3 separate regions of the Homo sapiens genome follow, and all the other regions are linked to region 1. Evidence: promoter capture Hi-C in human tissues and cell types (Jung and others, 2019). All regions are on one chromosome and are shown on one strand. Each heading gives the region's core, a stretch centred on a gene start or on the middle of the fragment in contact. The rest is flanking DNA. Distances are from core to core; before and after follow the strand shown.

Evidence for each region. The method cuts DNA at HindIII sites, captures the fragments that hold promoters and counts their contacts. A contact is called where the count stands out against the background at its distance.
Region 2: a fragment that was not itself captured here is called in contact with the fragment with the promoter of BCL2A1 in region 1 in 1 of the 25 tissues and cell types used here (lymphoblastoid cells).
Region 3: a contact is called between a fragment that was not itself captured here and the fragment with the promoter of BCL2A1 in region 1, in 1 of the 25 tissues and cell types used here (adrenal gland).

What each region holds. Positions count from the first base shown.
Region 1 is chr15:79,969,795-79,972,658 of GRCh38, forward strand. BCL2A1 (BCL2 related protein A1) reads right to left here and starts at 1,402. Exons shown (of 2, transcript NM_004049.4): 1 at 906-1,402. The coding sequence starts at 1,325. RefSeq lists an enhancer at 826-2,025. The HindIII fragment of the contact is 21,858 bases long and covers 1-2,864 here.
Region 2 is chr15:80,017,717-80,020,580 of GRCh38, forward strand. No RefSeq gene overlaps it. Among named protein-coding and RNA genes, the nearest start is that of ZFAND6, 41 kb to the right of the region's middle. RefSeq lists an enhancer at 1-11. The HindIII fragment of the contact is 3,110 bases long and covers 1-2,864 here.
Region 3 is chr15:79,933,158-79,936,021 of GRCh38, forward strand. No RefSeq gene overlaps it. Among named protein-coding and RNA genes, the nearest start is that of ST20, 11 kb to the left of the region's middle. The HindIII fragment of the contact is 4,458 bases long and covers 1-2,864 here.

The DNA of each region.
Region 1 (2,864 bases), core at 152-2,651:
GATAGATTCAGTAGGCATGTTTTGCATGCAAAATAATTGATAACAGTGGTTACCTCTTGGGAGAGGTGAAGGCCGTTGGAGAGAGGATCAATGAACACTTAAGTGCTTTAAAAAAATAATTATTAAGTATATTGGAATATAAAGGAAACCATATACATCCAGCTGTGTCAGGCTTTTTACCAACATGAGTTTCAACACAGGCCTCTACATAGTCTTGGCTTTTTTAGGCACTGATAATAAAGTAAATTTTTATTTGAAAATTCTTGAATAAAGGTTCTTGCTGGTCATACAGTATATTATGTTTTAATCAACAAACTTTAACAGCCCGGAATTTATTATTAGTAATAATGTGTTATATATTATATGTAATGTAATTTGCTATATATTAATATATGTTACTATTTATTATGTATTAGTAAACTGAAAAACACCAATTTGTAAGCGATGAACTTACAAAAATTTACACCTGTCTTTTGCAACCCATAAATACCTAAAAATAACAGCATCTGATAGCAACTTTCTGTGCTGATTGTAGAAATTTCTGTACTGTCTGTACTGTCATGACAACCCTAGCAAAAGCTAAGTACTAGATTAGAGTGTGTGCACAGCTGATTGTGAAGCTGCATGAGAGAGGTGCTTTATTAATCCCCAAAGCTCACTACTGTAATTTATACTGTTAAGAATAAAAACTGAAAACATAAGTGCTTTCCAACTATAAAGTTCAAGTTCAAGGATTCATTGGAAATAAGCCAGAAAGTATATTTTTATTTTAAAAATTAAAACAAACCACCCAAGGAAAATAGTATTCTTAGGTAAAGTGTTTTGTTGTTGTTTTAACTAGCAAGGAAATTCTCAATTTCTATTTCACAGGAAAGAACAATGAAGAATTTTTCCATCACACATACCCAGCCTCCGTTTTGCCTTATCCATTCTCCTGTGTTATTCATTATGAACTCCGCAACAAAATATGAAATCTCCTTATAGGTATCCACATCCGGGGCAATTTGCTGTCGTAGAAGTTTCTTGATGAGAATACCTTCAAATGCAAATATGGTTACAATTCTTCCCCAGTTAATGATGCCGTCTTCAAACTCCTTTTCCATCACTTGGTTGAATAGTGTTCTGGCAGTGTCTACGGACACAACATTAACATTGTCCAAGCATGACTTCAGATTCTTTTCCACTTCTTTTTGGACTGAGAACGCAACATTTTGTAGCACTCTGGACGTTTTGCTTGGACCTGATCCAGGTTGTGGTATCTGTAGGACGCACTGCAGATAGTCCTGAGCCAGCCTGTAAATATATCCAAATTCACAGTCTGTCATCTTCTGCCTGGTGGAGAGCAAAGTCTTGAGCTGGCTCACCTTGAAGCTGTTGAGGCAATGTGCTGAGAATGCTCACTGAGCTTGACTGAGTTATGACACATGATGATACATGGAGGCTGGTGGAATTTCTGTTTGCATCACTTTATAATATCCTTCCTCCTAGTCACTTTCGTGCGTAGGCTGTGTTTCATGTCATGTATGAAAGAGAAAGTTTAAAATGTGAAAGAGGAAAATGTTTCAGAGAAGCCACTTCCTCATCCTGTGATTAATTCAGCTTTGCAAGTCTTAAATGCAGGATGTGGAGAAATTAGAATCCTTGTAGATTGCTGGTGGGAATGTGAAATGGTACAACCCCTGTGAAAATGTTGGCAGTTTCTCAAAAAGTTAAATACAGAATTGTCAAAAGACCCAGCAATTCCATTCATAGGTATACACCCAACAGATACTCAAATACTTACATACGAATGTACATGGCAGCACTATTCACAATAGCCAAGATGTGGACACAACTCAAATGTTCATCAACAGACGAAAGGATAAATAAATTATGGAACATTATTCATCCCAAAAAAGGAATGAAGAACTGATACATGCTTCAACAGGAATGAACCTCAAAAACATTAGGCTAATAGAAAGAAGCCAAACAGAAAAGGTCATACATTATGTGATTCTATTTCTATGAAATATCCAGACAGTTAAATCCATAGGATAGAAAGCAAATTGGTGGTTGACAGGGGCTGAGAAGAGGAAGGAGTAACTGCTTAATGGGTAGAAGGTTTTCTTTTGTGTGATGAAAATGTTTTACAAGGCCGGCCGCGTTGGCTCACGCCTGTAATCCTAGCACTTTGGGAGGACAAGGCGGGCGGATTGCCTGAGCTCAGGAGTTTGAGACCAGCCTGGGCAATATGGTAAATCCCCGTCTGTACTAAAATACAAAAAATTAGCCAGGCGGGTGGCGTGTGCCTGTAATCCCAGCTACTCGGGAGGCTGAGGCAGGAGAATTGCTTGAACCCGGGAGACAGAAGTTGCAGTGAGCCAAGATCACGCCACTGCACTCCAGTCTGGGCAACAGAGCGAGACTCTGTCTCCAAAAAAAAAAAGAAAAGAAAATGTTTTGCAGCTAGATAGAGGTGGAAGTTGCACAACACTGCGAAGGTACTAAATGCCACTGAATTGTTCACTTTAAAATGGTTCTGTGAATTTCAAATTTAAGAAAAGTCTTAAACGCCATCCACGGGGTAAACCGGAGTAACGACAATTTGGAATGGAGACTACAAAACAGCCTGGGTGGCAGAGAACAGGGCCTCTCGAGGTGACTCTGGCAGTACCGCCCTTGATCATTTGTAATTGAGTAAGGATGATACCGAGAGGGAAGAAAAAAATACCCTCTTTGGGCCAGGCACGGTGGCTCACCCCTGTAATCCCAGCACTTTGGGAGGCTGAGGCGAGCGGATCACGAGATCAGAAGATCGAGACCATCCTGGCTAACACAGTGAAACCCCATCTCTACCAAAAATACAAAAAATTAGCCAGGCATGG
Region 2 (2,864 bases), core at 244-2,743, 48 kb after region 1:
TTAAGAACTGTAACACTCACTGTGAGGGTCCACGGCTTCATTCTTGAAGTCAGTGAGACCAAGAACCTACCAATTCTGGACACAGTGAGACCAAGAACCCACCAATTCCGGACACAACACTGAAAAAGAGAAGTGAAAGAGGACACCCTTACCTTGTTTCTGAGCTGAGAAAGCTTCTTGTTTCTCACCATTAATAGGTGTTAGCTATAGGGTTTTGTTAATGTTCTTTATCAAATAGAGGAAGTTCTCTTCTAGTCCTAGTTTGGTGAGAGTTTTTATCATAAATGGGTATCGGACTTAGTCAATTTTTTTTTGTATCTATTGATGTAATCTTGTGATTTTTCTTTCTCTGTTGATGTGATGGATTATAGTGATTGAGTTTTTGAATGTTGAACCAGGCTTGCATACCTTGGGTAATTCCATTTGGTCACGGTATATAATTCTTTTGTTTTGTTTTGTTTTTGAGACGAAGTCTCGCTCTGTCACCCAAGCTGGAGTGCAGTGGCGTGATCCCAGCTCACAGCAACCTCCACCTCCCAGGTTCCAGCGATTCTCCTGCCTCAGCCTCTGGAGTAGCTGGGACTACAGGTGCGTGCCACCATGCCCAGCTAATTTTTGTATTTTTAGTAGAGACAGGGTTTCACTATGTTGGCCAGGCTGGTCTTGAACTCCTGACCTCGTGATCCACCTGCCTCAGCCTCCCAAAGTGCTGGGATTACTGGCGTGAGCCACTGCACCCAGCCTGTTTTGTTTTGTTTTGTTTTTTGAGTTGAAGTTTCCCTCGTCATCCAGGCTGGAGTGCAATGACGCGATCTCAGGTCACTGCAACCTCCACCTCCCAGGTCCAAGCAATTCTCCTGCCTCAGCCTCCCAAGTAGCTGGGACTACAGATGTGCACCACCACGCCCAGCTAATGTTTGTATTTTTAGTAGAGATGGGGTTTTTACATGTTGACCAGGCTGGTCTCGAATTCCTGACCTCAGGAGATCTGCCCCCTTGGCCTCCCAAAGTGCTGGGATTACATGTGTGAGCCACCAAGCCTGGCCCTGGTTATGGCATACAATTCTTTTTACACATTGTCGTATTTGATTTGTTAATATGGTGTTGAGTATTTTTGCATTAATATTCATGAGAAATATTGGTCTGTAGTTTTCTTTTCTTTGTCTTGTTTTGATATTAAGGTAATATTGACCTCACAGAATGAGCTAGGAAGTATTCCCTCTGCTTCTATCTTCTGAAAGAGATTAGAGAGTCAGAATAATTTCTTCCTTAAATATTTGATAGAATTCACCAGTGAACTCATCTGGGCCTGATGCTTTCTGTTACAGAAAATTATTAATCATTGATTCAACTTTTTTTTTTTTTTGAGACAGAGTCTTGCTCTGTCACCCAGGCTGGAGTGCAGTGGCGTGACCTCGGCTCACTGCACGCTCCACCTCCTGGGTTAAAGCAGTTCTCCTGCCTCAGCCTCCTGAGTAGCTGGGATTACAGGCACTTGCCACCACGCCCGGCTAATTTTTGTATTTTAAGTAGGGATTCGCCATGTTGGTCAGGCTGTTTTCGAACTCCTGACCTCATGATCCGCTCACCTCGTCCTCCCAAAGTGCTAGGATTACAGGCGTGAGCCACCATGCCTGGCTGATTCAAGTTCTTTAATAGATATTGGCCCATTCAGATTGTCTGTTTCTCTTCATATGTTTTGGCAGATTGTATCTTTCAAGGAATTTGCCCATTTCATCTAGTTTGTCAAATGCCTGGGCATAGTTGTTCATAATATTCCTTTCTTAACCTCTTAATGTTCATGGGATATGTAATTATTAATATCAGAAGTGAAAGAGGTATCTTTCACTTCTGATATTAATAATTTGTCAACTCTTTTTTTTTTTAGCCTGGTTAGAGGCTTATTGATTTTATTGATCTTTTCAAAGAACAGACTTTTAATTTTGATGATTTTTTTTTTTTTTGAGACGGAGTTTGCCCAGGCTAGAATGCAGTGGCACAATCTCAGTTCACTGCAACTTCTGCCTCCTGGATTCAAGTGATTCTCCTGCCTCAGCCTCCCAAGTAGCTGGGACTACAGGCATGCACCACCATGCCTGGCTAATTTTTATATTTTTAGTAGAGGCAGGGTTCGCCATGTTTGCCAGGCTGGTCTCAAACTCGTGACCTCAAGTGATCTGCCTGCCTTGGCCTCCCAAAGTCCTGGAATTACAGGCGTGAGCCACTGTGCCCAGCTTTTTTTTTTTTTTTTTAAAGAGACAGGGTCTTGCTCTGTTGCCCAGGCTGGAGTGCAGTGGCCCGATCTTGGCTCTCTGCAACCTCTGCCTCTTGGGCTTGAGTGATCCTCCCAACTCAGCATCCTGAGTTTCTTTTTGTTTTTTTTTCGGACTATTTTCTCTTTGCTTTTTCATTTCAGAAGTTTCTATTGACATATCTTTAAGCTGAGAGAGTCTTTCCTCAGCCTTATGCACATTACTAATGAGCCCGTCAAAGGCATTCTTTATTTCTGTTACAATGTTTTTGATCTCTAGCATTTACTTTTTATTCTTTCTTAGAATTTCCATCTCTCTGCATTGCCCATCTGTTCTTGCATGCTTTCTACTTTATCCATTAGATCCCTTAGCATATTCATCATAGTTCTCTTAAATTCCTGGTCTGGGCTGGGCGCAGTGGCTGTAATCCCAGCACTTTGGGAGGCCGAGGTGGGCGGATCACGAGGTCAGGAGTTTGAGACCAGCCTGGCCAACATAGTGAAACCCTATCTGTACTAAAAATACAGAAATTAGCCGGGTGTGCTGGTGCATGCCTGTAGTCCCAGCTACTCAGGAGGCTGAAGCAGGAGAATCGCTTGAACCCGGGAGGCA
Region 3 (2,864 bases), core at 105-2,604, 37 kb before region 1:
TTTTGGGAGCAGAAGTTAGCGGAAGGAGTCTTTTACCCAGGGTAGTAGTACCACCACAATCAACAAAGCAAGAAGATTTGAGAGTCAGAATTTACTGGCAACAGTCCTGGGCCTATACATCAGAGAAGAAAAATTTGAACGGGTCCTGAAATAAGATTAGAAGCAGATCTGAAAAGCCAAAGTAAAGAGCCAGGGAAACAAATGAAAGCCAGGCGCACTGGGTTCAATGCTAGATGACAGGGTGATTCTTTGTGAATGCCAAAAGGAAGTGGTTGCAGGCAGTTGCAACCTTTGTTTCCATGCCCTTTGTAGCAGGGCATTTGGAAGAAACAGTTGCATTTAAGGGTTAGGGATTCTGTGCCTTGGCAGGGTTGTGAGTTTCCAGCATTGAGACCAGTTGGTAACCAGATCTGCTCGACTAGAGCCCAATCTGCAAAGCTCCCTAATGCAGAAGGGAGCTTTACCATTGTGTAAACAGATTCTATCTTCCCATGGTTCCTAGAAACCAGATAGCCTTCATCGCACATCTTCACTCTATTCTAGAGAAATGAGGGCAAGGTGTTGGGCAGGGCAGGTTAGAGACGAATAGTCGGGTATGGCACAGGTGGCTCCCTGTTATCAGTGGGTATGGTTTACCTCACATGGGGCACCTACAAACGAAGTAGTGGCCAACAGAGCTGCTTTGTCTGTGGGCATGTTTGTCTACCTGCATTATTAGAGGACTTGTTTCCTCTTCCCTACCACAACAATCCTCCCAAATTGTTTGAGCTTTTTCTACTGCCTATTTTTGCAGCCGATGTCAGTTGATCAAGAGGTATGGCCTGGTATTTAGTCCACCTTGAGTCAGATGCAGGTATCAGTTAGCAACTCTGCTTACTAAGTACTTGAATATTGGGTTCAAATCATGTTATAGTATCATTTATAGACAACTCATGAGCAAACCACCAAAATTCTGCTGTGCAATAACAGCAGGGCAGATCATGGTATTAAATGTATTTATCCTGGCAGGGAGAAGGTATGTGTATACTGTAGGACAGCTGGAGTGTGTGTATTGCTTTCAAAGGTGGGATTGCAGGCTACATGAGAGAAAATGAATTTCCCCAACCTCTCCAACGGCCAAGATAAAAGACATGCCTTTCTATCTCTTCACCTTTGATGCATTCAAAGCTACATCATCATGTTACACAAGGTCCCTTTTAAGAGTAGGTGTAGCCTGGGCCAGCCATGGTGGCTCACGCCTGTAATCCCAGCACTTTGGAAGGCTGTGGTGGGTGGATCACTTGAGGTCAGGAGTTCGAGACCAGCCTGGCCAACATGGTGAAACCCCATCTCTACTAAAAAATAGAAAAATTAGCTGGGCATGGTGGCAGGTGCCTGTAATCCCAGCTACTAGGGAGGCTGAGGCAGGAGAATTGCTTGAACCCAGAGGTTGCAGTGAGCCGAGGTCATGCCATTGCACTTCAGCCTGGGCGACAGAGCAAGACTGTCTCAAAAATAATAATAATGCTGCAAAAATAACATTCTCATTCACCAGTCTCACTCAGTTGTTGGAGAAATTACTTAATTTTCAAAATTGTGGGGTAAGATGTGTAAGATCTATGCACAAAGCTATTTATTATGGTATTATTGCAATAGCAAAAGACTGAGAGCAACCCAAAATTATCAGTGTGGGACTGGTTTTAAAAAACTATGATACATCCACGTGATGGAGGACTATGCATCTATGAAAAGGAAAGAGATGAAGATCATGTAGCTCCAGGATAACTGGTTCAGAATGGTGCTTATAGTATGCACCTTTAGTACAAGAAGCAGGAAGGGACATGAAAATATATACATATATACTTATGTTTGTAAGAAGCTATGATGAGAAGATAAACCCAAAATAAATAAAAATGGTAAACAAATGGAGAAGGAGGGCATAGAGTGAAGGGCATAGAAATAGTCCTATGGAGAAAAATAGGGAGGGGGGTGGGGCAGGATTGCAATTTTATTATTTATTTATTTATTTTGAGACAAGGTCTTGTTCTGTCACCCAGGCTGGAGTACAGTGGTGTGATCTTGGCTCACTGCAATCTTTGCCTCCTGGGCTCTGAAGGAGGCCAGCCCCTCCACACCTGTGGGTATTTCTTGTCAGGTGGGACGAGAGACTGAGAAAAGAAATAAGACACAGAGACAAACTACAGAGAAAGAACAGTGGGCCCAGGGAACCGGCGCTCAGCATATGGAGGACCCGCACCAGTGCCCGTCTCTGAGTTCCCTCAGTATTTATTGATCATTATTTTTACTATCTTAGCGAGGGGAGTGTAGCAGGGCAACAAGTGGGGAGAAGGTCAGCAGGGAAACATGTGAGCAAAGGAATCTGTATCATGAATAAGTTCAAGGAAAGGTACTGTGCCCAGATGTGCACGTAGACTAGATTTATGTTTCTCTTTACCCAAACATCTCAGTGTAGCAAAGAGTAACAGAGCAGTATTGCTGCCAGCACATCTCACCTCCAGCCACAGGGCGGTTTTTTCCTGTCTCAGAATAGAACAAATGGGAATGGTCAGCTTTACACCAAGACATTCCATTCCCAGGGACGAGCAGGAGACAGAAGCCTTCCTCTTATCTCAACTGCAAAGAGGCCTCCCTGTTTCACTAATCCTTCTCAGCACAGACCCCTTACGGGTGTCGGGCTGGGGTATGGTAAGGTCTTTCTTTTCCCATGAGGCCATATCTCAGGCTGTCTCAGTGCAGGGAAACGTTGGACAATACCCAGGCTTTTTTGGGCAGAGGTCCCTGCGGCTTTCTGCAGTGCATCATGTCCCTGGTTAATAGAGAATGGAGAATGGCAATGACTTTTACCAAGCATACTGCCTGCAAAC